Regions from separate parts of the Homo sapiens genome. Here all the other regions are linked to region 2. Evidence: promoter capture Hi-C in 16 types of primary human blood cells and fetal thymus (Javierre and others, 2016). All regions are on one chromosome and are shown on one strand. The core of a region is centred on a gene start or on the middle of the fragment in contact, and the rest is flanking DNA. Distances in the headings are between cores, read along the strand shown. Region 1 overlaps DCTD (dCMP deaminase). Region 2 holds the start of ING2 (inhibitor of growth family member 2). Region 3 overlaps IRF2 (interferon regulatory factor 2).

What was found. Contacts are between HindIII fragments. The CHiCAGO score rates a contact against its expected background, and 5 or more counts as called.
Region 1: a contact is called between a fragment that was not itself captured here and the fragment with the promoter of ING2 in region 2, in 3 of 17 cell types (activated CD4 T cells, monocytes and total CD8 T cells). The highest score is 8.2, in activated CD4 T cells.
Region 3: a contact is called between a fragment that was not itself captured here and the fragment with the promoter of ING2 in region 2, in 1 of 17 cell types (neutrophils). The highest score is 5.0, in neutrophils.

The regions. Positions count from the first base shown.
Region 1 is chr4:182,910,211-182,912,910 of GRCh38, forward strand. All of the region lies in intron 3 of DCTD (dCMP deaminase), which reads right to left. Among named protein-coding and RNA genes, the nearest start is that of DCTD, 5.8 kb to the right of the region's middle. The HindIII fragment of the contact is 1,680 bases long and covers 511-2,190 here.
Region 2 is chr4:183,503,596-183,506,307 of GRCh38, forward strand. It overlaps ING2 (inhibitor of growth family member 2), which reads left to right and starts at 1,463. Exons shown (of 2, transcript NM_001564.4): 1 at 1,463-1,772. The coding sequence starts at 1,601. It overlaps ING2-DT (ING2 divergent transcript), which reads right to left and starts at 920. Exons shown (of 3, transcript NR_033995.2): 1 at 581-920. RefSeq lists silencers at 545-1,584, 1,805-2,524. The HindIII fragment of the contact is 10,965 bases long and covers 1-2,712 here.
Region 3 is chr4:184,448,184-184,450,883 of GRCh38, forward strand. The region is part of intron 1 of IRF2 (interferon regulatory factor 2); the gene reads right to left. Among named protein-coding and RNA genes, the nearest start is that of IRF2, 25 kb to the right of the region's middle. The HindIII fragment of the contact is 2,270 bases long and covers 219-2,488 here.

The DNA of each region.
Region 1 (2,700 bases), core at 101-2,600, 590 kb before region 2:
ACCCAGAGCCCTTTGCCAGCAGAAATCAGCAAGGCCACAAGTGCTGGGCAGCTGGATACATGTGGCAAGCATTACTAAAAATTCCCTTAAGTTTAACAACGGGAACAAGTTAATTCTCCAACTCTCTAATTTGTAAACTATATCATCAAAATCGGTTACGAAAACCCAAGGAAAGAGTGATATCTGAATCACCAAGAGTATTTTACCTCATTTGATAACATTGGTATTTTGATTAAATGTGCTTCACTATAATGAATTCCACAAAGAAAAAGGAATGAAAAATGTCAACTGAATACTTCATCACAGGTTTAGCAACCCACCCCCTCATGAAAATAAAAATCTTCCCAAGTTTTTTAATCTTGTAAATTAGATAAATCTGCTGCTTCCTCTTTTTTAATTGTCATTCATCTGAAAAGATTCTTAGTATAATAACATTGCCTTCTTCCTGCCACTTAATGTTACTGACATCATATTATCTTTTGGATTTTTCAGGAAAAGGATGGAATAAAAAGCTTCTTTAGCAGAGGGAATTTTCATTTTCCACATTAATACTACATTATAATAAAATAGTTTTATGAAGTTTTGATCCCAAGACTGGAAGAACAAAAACACCCTTTAAAAATAACTCTCTAGAGACACAGCCCAGGAAAAGCTCCATCTTCCTATTATGTTACAAGTAGTGTGTGTTTCCCTCCTCCCCACAAGGCATCAATCAGGACTAATGACTTCCGACTTACGGAATTAATAAAGCAGTATTAAGCTGTATGTTATTTGGTAAACTCAAATTTACACAGTTCTCAAGCTCCCTGTCACAGTCCCTTGGGGCTGCTATAACAAAGTCCCATAGACTGGGTGGCTGAGAAACAATGGACATTTATTTCTCATGGTTCTGGAGGCTGGAAGTCAGGACACCAGCATGGTTAGATTCTGGCAAGGTCTCCTTTCAGGGTTGCAGATAGCCATCTTCTCCGCCTATCCTTGCACATGGAAAAAGAGTAACTGAGCTCCCTGGGGTCCCTTTTAGAAGGGCACTAATCCCATTCAGGAGAGCTCCACCCTCATGGCCTAATTACGTCCCCCCAGGCCCCACCTCCAAATATCAGCACATTGGAATTAGGGTTTCAACATGTGAATTTGGGGGGAGACACATTCAGTCCACTGCACTCCCCTTTGAAGAAATGTTACAGTGAGCCACGCATGTGGCTTTCTGCATGATGCCGGACACAGGCCACCCCTCCCCGAGCTCCTGATCTCTGAGGAGTAATTATTTTATCGGAGCCTCAGTCTGATCAACTGCAAAAAAAAATGAGACAATGATTGGCATTTCAGTACAGCTGAATTCATGTGCCCCACAGGAGAGACACAGGGAGGTAGCAGGAAGAGCACTGACCTTGGAATTAGGAGATGTCACCCTGCATGTGTGACATTATAGAAGTTACTTACAAGAAAGGAGGAGGCTTAGATCCTGTGGGCATAGAACCCTGAGACACTACTAAGGTATTGCAAGGGGTCCAAGCATATCCACAACTGGATAAATCCCATGTCCAGGACATACATAAACTTTTCCCAAACATACATAAATGCTATCCAATTAATAAAGTTCAGATTAACAAAAAATGTTACTGATACGAAGTAGTTTTTGTCATTGTGGAGTTTCTTACTCAAAAGATACTAAGAATTTAGCATTATGCAGGGGTCCTGGAAGTTTTTCAGCATTTAAAAGAGGGTCCTGTACATTCAAAAGAGTTAAAAATCATTGTCCAGAACTCGAGATAATCTCTAAAGCTCCTTTACAGGGATTAACCTATGAATTTACCCTTCCTGCTACAGCAGCTCAGTCACCATTAATGTAGATGAGGAAAGAATGGGTTGAGCTATCCAACTCCAGGCAGTATCCCCTTATTTTTTAAATTAATTTTGAAAATCTTAAAACGAAAGCAAAAAAAAAAAAAAAGACTTTGCATTTGAGTCAATTATCAGCAAACATTTCTGTGACATCCCAGGCAATCCAAACATTTACTTCTCTGTGGCCTGAAAAACCTTGAGAAGACAACAAGTGTACAGTTTATACACAGTCATCGTCATTTAGACTTTAAGCCCATCTTTACTGTATTATGGCGGCAGTAATACTAAATGCCTTTTAGAAACCATTTAATACCTTCTACAACTTTTATGGTACATCAAATTACAAGCTTACTCTCGTGAAAGAAAACTGTCGACATTCTAACACAGCTACATATAAATGAATAATTGATAAGTAAGAGCAAAGAGCTTTGAAAACCTAGAGGTATCATATGGATAATAAAAAATAATGCAGACAGACAACCAGTGCCCAGGAGCTCAGGAGCTATTCAATAAAAAACAATCGGTGAAGTTGGACAAATACCTATGCAGGTTTTTAAAAAAATTCCTTCTAGAAAGGGGCTCTGAAAGGTACTCTCCTCAATTTGGACAAAAGGCAGTGTCTCATAACCAACAAAATCAGCTACACGGGAAGTCAGGAGAGCTGGGAAGTCTGGGGTGTGGGGCAGGTGCTGCAAATGTACTGCATGGCCCTTGGCTTCCAGGTCACTGCTTAAAGATCTGCTGGGGGCTCTGGGTGACTGAAGAAGGCACAGGCCCCATTGGGAGGCCCACTCAGTGCTCACCCAGGACCCCTCCGCACTGTCCAACCACGGGTATCTTTTGCACCAGCTTGAG
Region 2 (2,712 bases), core at 213-2,712:
TGCAAACTGGATCTAAGAAGATCCAAATTTGTCACCACTCACTCACATTTTAACTCAAAGGTAGTACTCACAATTGGCCTTGTTTACATAGGCATTCCATTAAAATTATCCATGCATTCATTCTATTTGCACCCATTTCTTTCAAAAATGTCCATCTGTAATTAAAATCAGCTCCTCTGCCTGACATCTCATTTACACTACACCGAAATTAAACCCCACTAGGAGATCACGTAGATTATGGGGCCGAGGGCCCGCCCGCTGACTAGGTTTTCACTCGCGTCTCCTCCATGCCCCAGGTCCCCTCCGATTGCAGTCCTGGGGCAGGACTGAGCAAAAAGTCCCGTAAAGCTGGCGTGTGCCCCACTCCGCCAGGAAGCCTCACCGACGTCCTGTGCTTAAATGTTCTGACACCCCCCAAAAGCAGTTGTTTTTAAAGGCTGTCTGTGGGACCAATGCGTTGTCAAACAGATGCCGTCCCGCATCCCCTCCCCCTAAATGACACAGAAGATTCCAGCGTAGGGGAAGGGCCACGAAACCCGCAGGGCACACGACGCCGGGGGCCGGAGGGAGCACCGCCTACCTCCCTGATCAAGCCCCGCGGTGCCGGGCGAGCCCGAGGGCCCGGCAGGAGGCGGGCGGCAGCCCCAGGCGAGCTCGGAGGCGGCGGGAACGCAGCCGCCGCGCATGCCGGGAGCCGCACGCCGCCCGCCGGGGCGCGCAGTCCCGCAGGCCTCGCTCCAGGTCGTCCGAAAAGGAACCGCCTGCTGCTCCTTTGCAGGCTCGCGAGGAGCCGCACTCGGACCGCCTGATGGGGAAAAAGCCGGTGTGGCCGGGCGGAGCGAGCCGAGCGGAGCTGGAGCTGCCCCTCCCAGCGGGGAGGACGGCACGAAGGACCGAGCCGCCTCCCCTCCCGGGTCCCATTCAGACGCGAGGCGCAGAGACTGGCTCCCCGGGCTTCCCCTTTAAGGGGGGCGGGGCGCGGCCTGCCGTTTGGCCGCCCCCCACACCCTCCCCCGCTAGCCCAGAGCCGGCAGACCAATCGCCCGGGCGGCGGAGCGAAGGCGGGAGAATGCGAACCCTCCGGTAGGCGGTAGGGGCGGGCCCCGGCCTTATTCGCAGGGAGCGCTGCGCAGGCGCAGAGGCGGCCGCGGGCGGAGGGGCGGGGGCAGGCTAGCGGGAGGCTCTCCGTGAGGCACGGAGGGTGACTGGGGACAGGCGGGCGGCGACGGGCTTGTCATGGGGATCCGGGCTGCGAGACGGCACTCGTAGCATCTGGGGACTCCGAGGGGGACAGGAAGTGTCAGCGCCCGGGACCCCGGCGCCGGCCCCGCCGAGGGGATCCCCACTGCTCCGGTCCTGGAGCGGGAGGGGAGAAAGGAGGGAGCCCCGGTTTCGCCCCGCCCCTGGGCTGGTGCTGCGGGGGCGGGGAGTGAGGGCTGCTCTGGGGGGAGTGGAGATCGGGGAGCGCGGCCGTGCCCTCTCGAGCGGCTGCGGGGTCCCCGCGGCGCCGGGCTGCTGAGCTGAGGGCCCGCGGCGGCCGCGGCCGGTGCATGTGCGGCTGCTGGATGCGGAGGCGGCGGCGACGGCGCGGATCGGCAGGATGTTAGGGCAGCAGCAGCAGCAACTGTACTCGTCGGCCGCGCTCCTGACCGGGGAGCGGAGCCGGCTGCTCACCTGCTACGTGCAGGACTACCTTGAGTGCGTGGAGTCGCTGCCCCACGACATGCAGAGGAACGTGTCTGTGCTGCGAGAGCTGGACAACAAATATCAAGGTAGGAGCCGCGGGGCTGCCGGCCTCGGGAGCCGGTGGCGGGGAGCCTGTCCGGGGGAGTGCCACCTTCCCTTTCTCCCGTGACAGTCTCCCCGAGCGCACCGAGGGTCTGCCGAGCGGGACTGGGAGGACTGGAGACCGGGTTGGCGGCCCTCCGTGGCCCCGCGGTGGGCGAGTACTTCTCTGGGGTCCCCAGAGTGGGGGTGGGGGCCGCTTGTCAGCCCCCGCTGCAGACCCAGCGGCTGCAGCTGCCGCTGAGGGGAATCAGCCATTTTAAGCAGCAAGCATTTGTTCAGGCGCTGGCCCGCCCCGTGCCGCAGACCCTGCGGCCCCGGCCCGGGACTGCAGCCGGGCAAGGGTCGGAGGGAGTGAGCGGCCGGGCTCCCGCTGGTCTGCGGGGCGCGCTTCCCCACCTCACTCGCCCCCACCCCGGAGTGCGGGTGCTTTGGAACGTGCGGGGGGAGGGGGCGAGAGGCCGCGGAGGCGGACTGAGGGGGCCTTCCTCCGCGCTCCTGCCCCGGCCCGGAGGAGAGCAGTCCGTTCCGCTCTCTCGCCCCGGGAAAGTTCGCGGGCGCCCCGCGTTGTAGCCCTAGCCCAGTTCTTTCGGCAAAATGGTTAAGAGGGGAGGGGTCCCCCGCGGGAGAGGAAGAGAGGGGCGTGTGTGGCGGGGAGGGCCCCCGCGCCGGGGGCGGGGCCTGCGGGCTTGACGAGGGGCGTGGGAGGGGCGCGGCGCGCGTTCCCGCGGGCCTGGAAAATGGCTGGTCGCGAGAGGGGCGGTGGCGAGCTGGCTGCTGGGGAGGGAGTCGGGGCTGTGCGGGGGCGTTGGTTCGGCCCCAGCGGAGTCCGAATCGGGGTTTGCAGCATGTTTTGCGGTGATGTTTCCAACCTCTTTCCCAGTCAATGGATCAGGACGGCGATCAGCAGCTCGGACCGTCGCGGAT
Region 3 (2,700 bases), core at 104-2,603, 940 kb after region 2:
GTAATTTCCAGTACAGAGGGAAAGACGACGACAGCCTTTCTGCAAATACAACAAACTCTAGGAAACCCCCTTTGTGGTGCTTAAATGAAGCTGCTGGCGGTTTATTCGTCCTCCGTGCACCAGGATGGTATTAATAAGCACATGCATCAATCACTTTATCTATCCATCCATAAGGGGCAGCTTAATCAAGCAACAATTAGCTGAACAAGGAGGCTCTAAGCTTCATTTCCTGGGGGAGATGAGGAGTGATGGTCCATAATTCATTTAAATTGTTCAGTTGTGTAGAAGAGGAGAAATAAGACGGCCAAAGAGCTCTCGTGCGTATTTGAGAGAAAAGCGCTCAGATTTAGGCGCCAAAGATTTACCTCCAGCCAAACTTCTGTGCTAATTCAATAGAAGTTATTTATGTTTTATATTTTAAAGCACAGAATTGGTTTCCAAGTCACTCTGCCTCACCTCAAAGTTAAGGTGGAAGAAAAACCGCCAGAAGTGCCATCGCTGGGTCACTGATAGATTTGCAAATTGTAGATGTTTGTCCTCCAGAGGCCCCTCCACCACCAGTTCTCTGCAGGACACTTCAGGGTTCCCAGCGCCCCAAATCTGGCATTCCCAGAATAGTTTCATTTTCGATCATGACAACAGTTCCCACTCCCACAGCTTTTCAAGCACTTGGCTCAGGGAAGACCCACTAGGAGTAAGGGCTTTGCTTTTTGTTTCTTGTTTACAACGTTTCCTCGACGTGTGCAAGACGGAAGCCTGAACAACTGTCAGTTCCACTTGCTCGTACTTGGCTGAACACTGCAGTTACTCCCCTGGCCTCGGACTCCGGAGAAGAGCACACAGCACTGTCCAAGAACAGCTCCCACACTGAGAACAGAAACCGAAACCAGGGGTGAAGAACCGATCCTTCCTTCCACAAAGCCTGGACCAGGCAGCCATTCAGACTGCTCTCCTCGGCCCCCAACCCCAACCCAGCTCTGCCCTACAGCCAGAACACCCTTCCAAAAGCACAAACAGACTCTCATCATTCCACTGCCTAAAGCCTGTCCTTACCCCACAAGCCTCCAGCGAGGGGTCCGTCCCAAGTCTCTGCGTCTGTCACCCCTCAGCCTCAAGAGCATCCCCTCTCCCAAGCTAACTCTTACTCATTTTTCAGATTTGGCTTCAAAGTCACTTGACAGCAAACCTTCTCCATTTCACCAGGCCAGGCCCCCAAATCTGTAGACAAGAATCTCCATGAGGACCAAAGTCAATTCTGTTTTGTTCACCATGCTATTCCCAGGGCCCAGAGTACGGCAGAGGCCAACGCTCAATAAATATTAGTTGACTAAATAATGAACTTGCTATATACGCCCAGCACAGTGATACGCAATGACGGAAGGAGCTTGCAGCCTAGAAAGAGAAGACAGGGACACAGGCAATCACAGTGAGGAGAAGGATGAACTGCCATCAAAAGAAGCGTGCACCAATGCGTGGGAAATGCCATCTAGACAGGCAGTCGGGGATACCTTACCAATAATGCTTTAAATGACTTTAGGTTTTCAAGATACAATCTGGAATGTTGTTTATGTAGATCTTGTTTATTTTATACATGGGAATTCACTAGAAATGTACTGATGTTCACCAACACTGCGCTGGCCGTTACCAAGAACTATGGTATGTGGTTAGTATGGTGACCAAGCCAAAATGGAGCACTTCTGAATGTGAATGGGGTCTCATTAATACTGACACCTGAAACAGATATAAAGAGCGACTGTTCCTGGAAACACCAGGATGTGAGAAGCCTCTGGTTGTAGGGGCTAGGTATACTGACGCAGGCTCACCGTCTTCTATTCAAAATCTTGGGGCCAGATAAAGTCTTCAGAATTCAAAAGTGTGTGGATGTTAGCAAGATAATGCGGTACACATACCATATACCACAAGGAACAAAACACCCCGGAAAGTAATTAGGGCAGAACCCCTTAATCCAACACAGTTAATATTTCTGCAGTGAAACACGAACATTCACACTGATTGGGATAAATAAAAGCTATGAATAGCTTCATGTCAATTCAGGGCAGACTATCCTGCCAAATGAGTCATGATAATAACTTTCAGTTTCAGAGCATTTTGGATTGCAAATAAGGGATTTGGGGCTTGCAGTAGATTTCAAGTTATTTCAATCTTTGGAATATATTATTGTTATCACGCTACACGAAAAATCAGCATCATTTTCCTTAAACTGTATTTATATTACACATTAATCTGGCACACACTAGGCTTAATGTAGTGAATAATAGCACTGTTTAGTTCTGAAATGAAAAAATGTAATGCAAACTATTTCTGCTTATTAGAAAGTGGAAAAATACTTTTCCTAAATATTTTTATAAAATTTGAAATCTTAAGTAGCCATTTAAAAGTATTATTTCCTTTAAGTCGAGTTTACCTAACAATACGTATGTGCTTTACCTTACCAATCAAATACATAAAATACTTATAAAATAAGAAAAGCTTTAAATATTTAGATTCAAAATTTCTTTAAAATAGTCTCCCTAAGGTTCCTTTATGATGGCATTTGTAATATCATTGTTCTTTCTCCATGACATTCTAAATATTTGATTTAAAAACTAAAGTTATTATAAAAATACCTTTCCAAGGATCACGTTAAATGGCATTTGTTTGTTTGTTTGTTTGTTGCTGTGCATGCCCTATGAATGACAT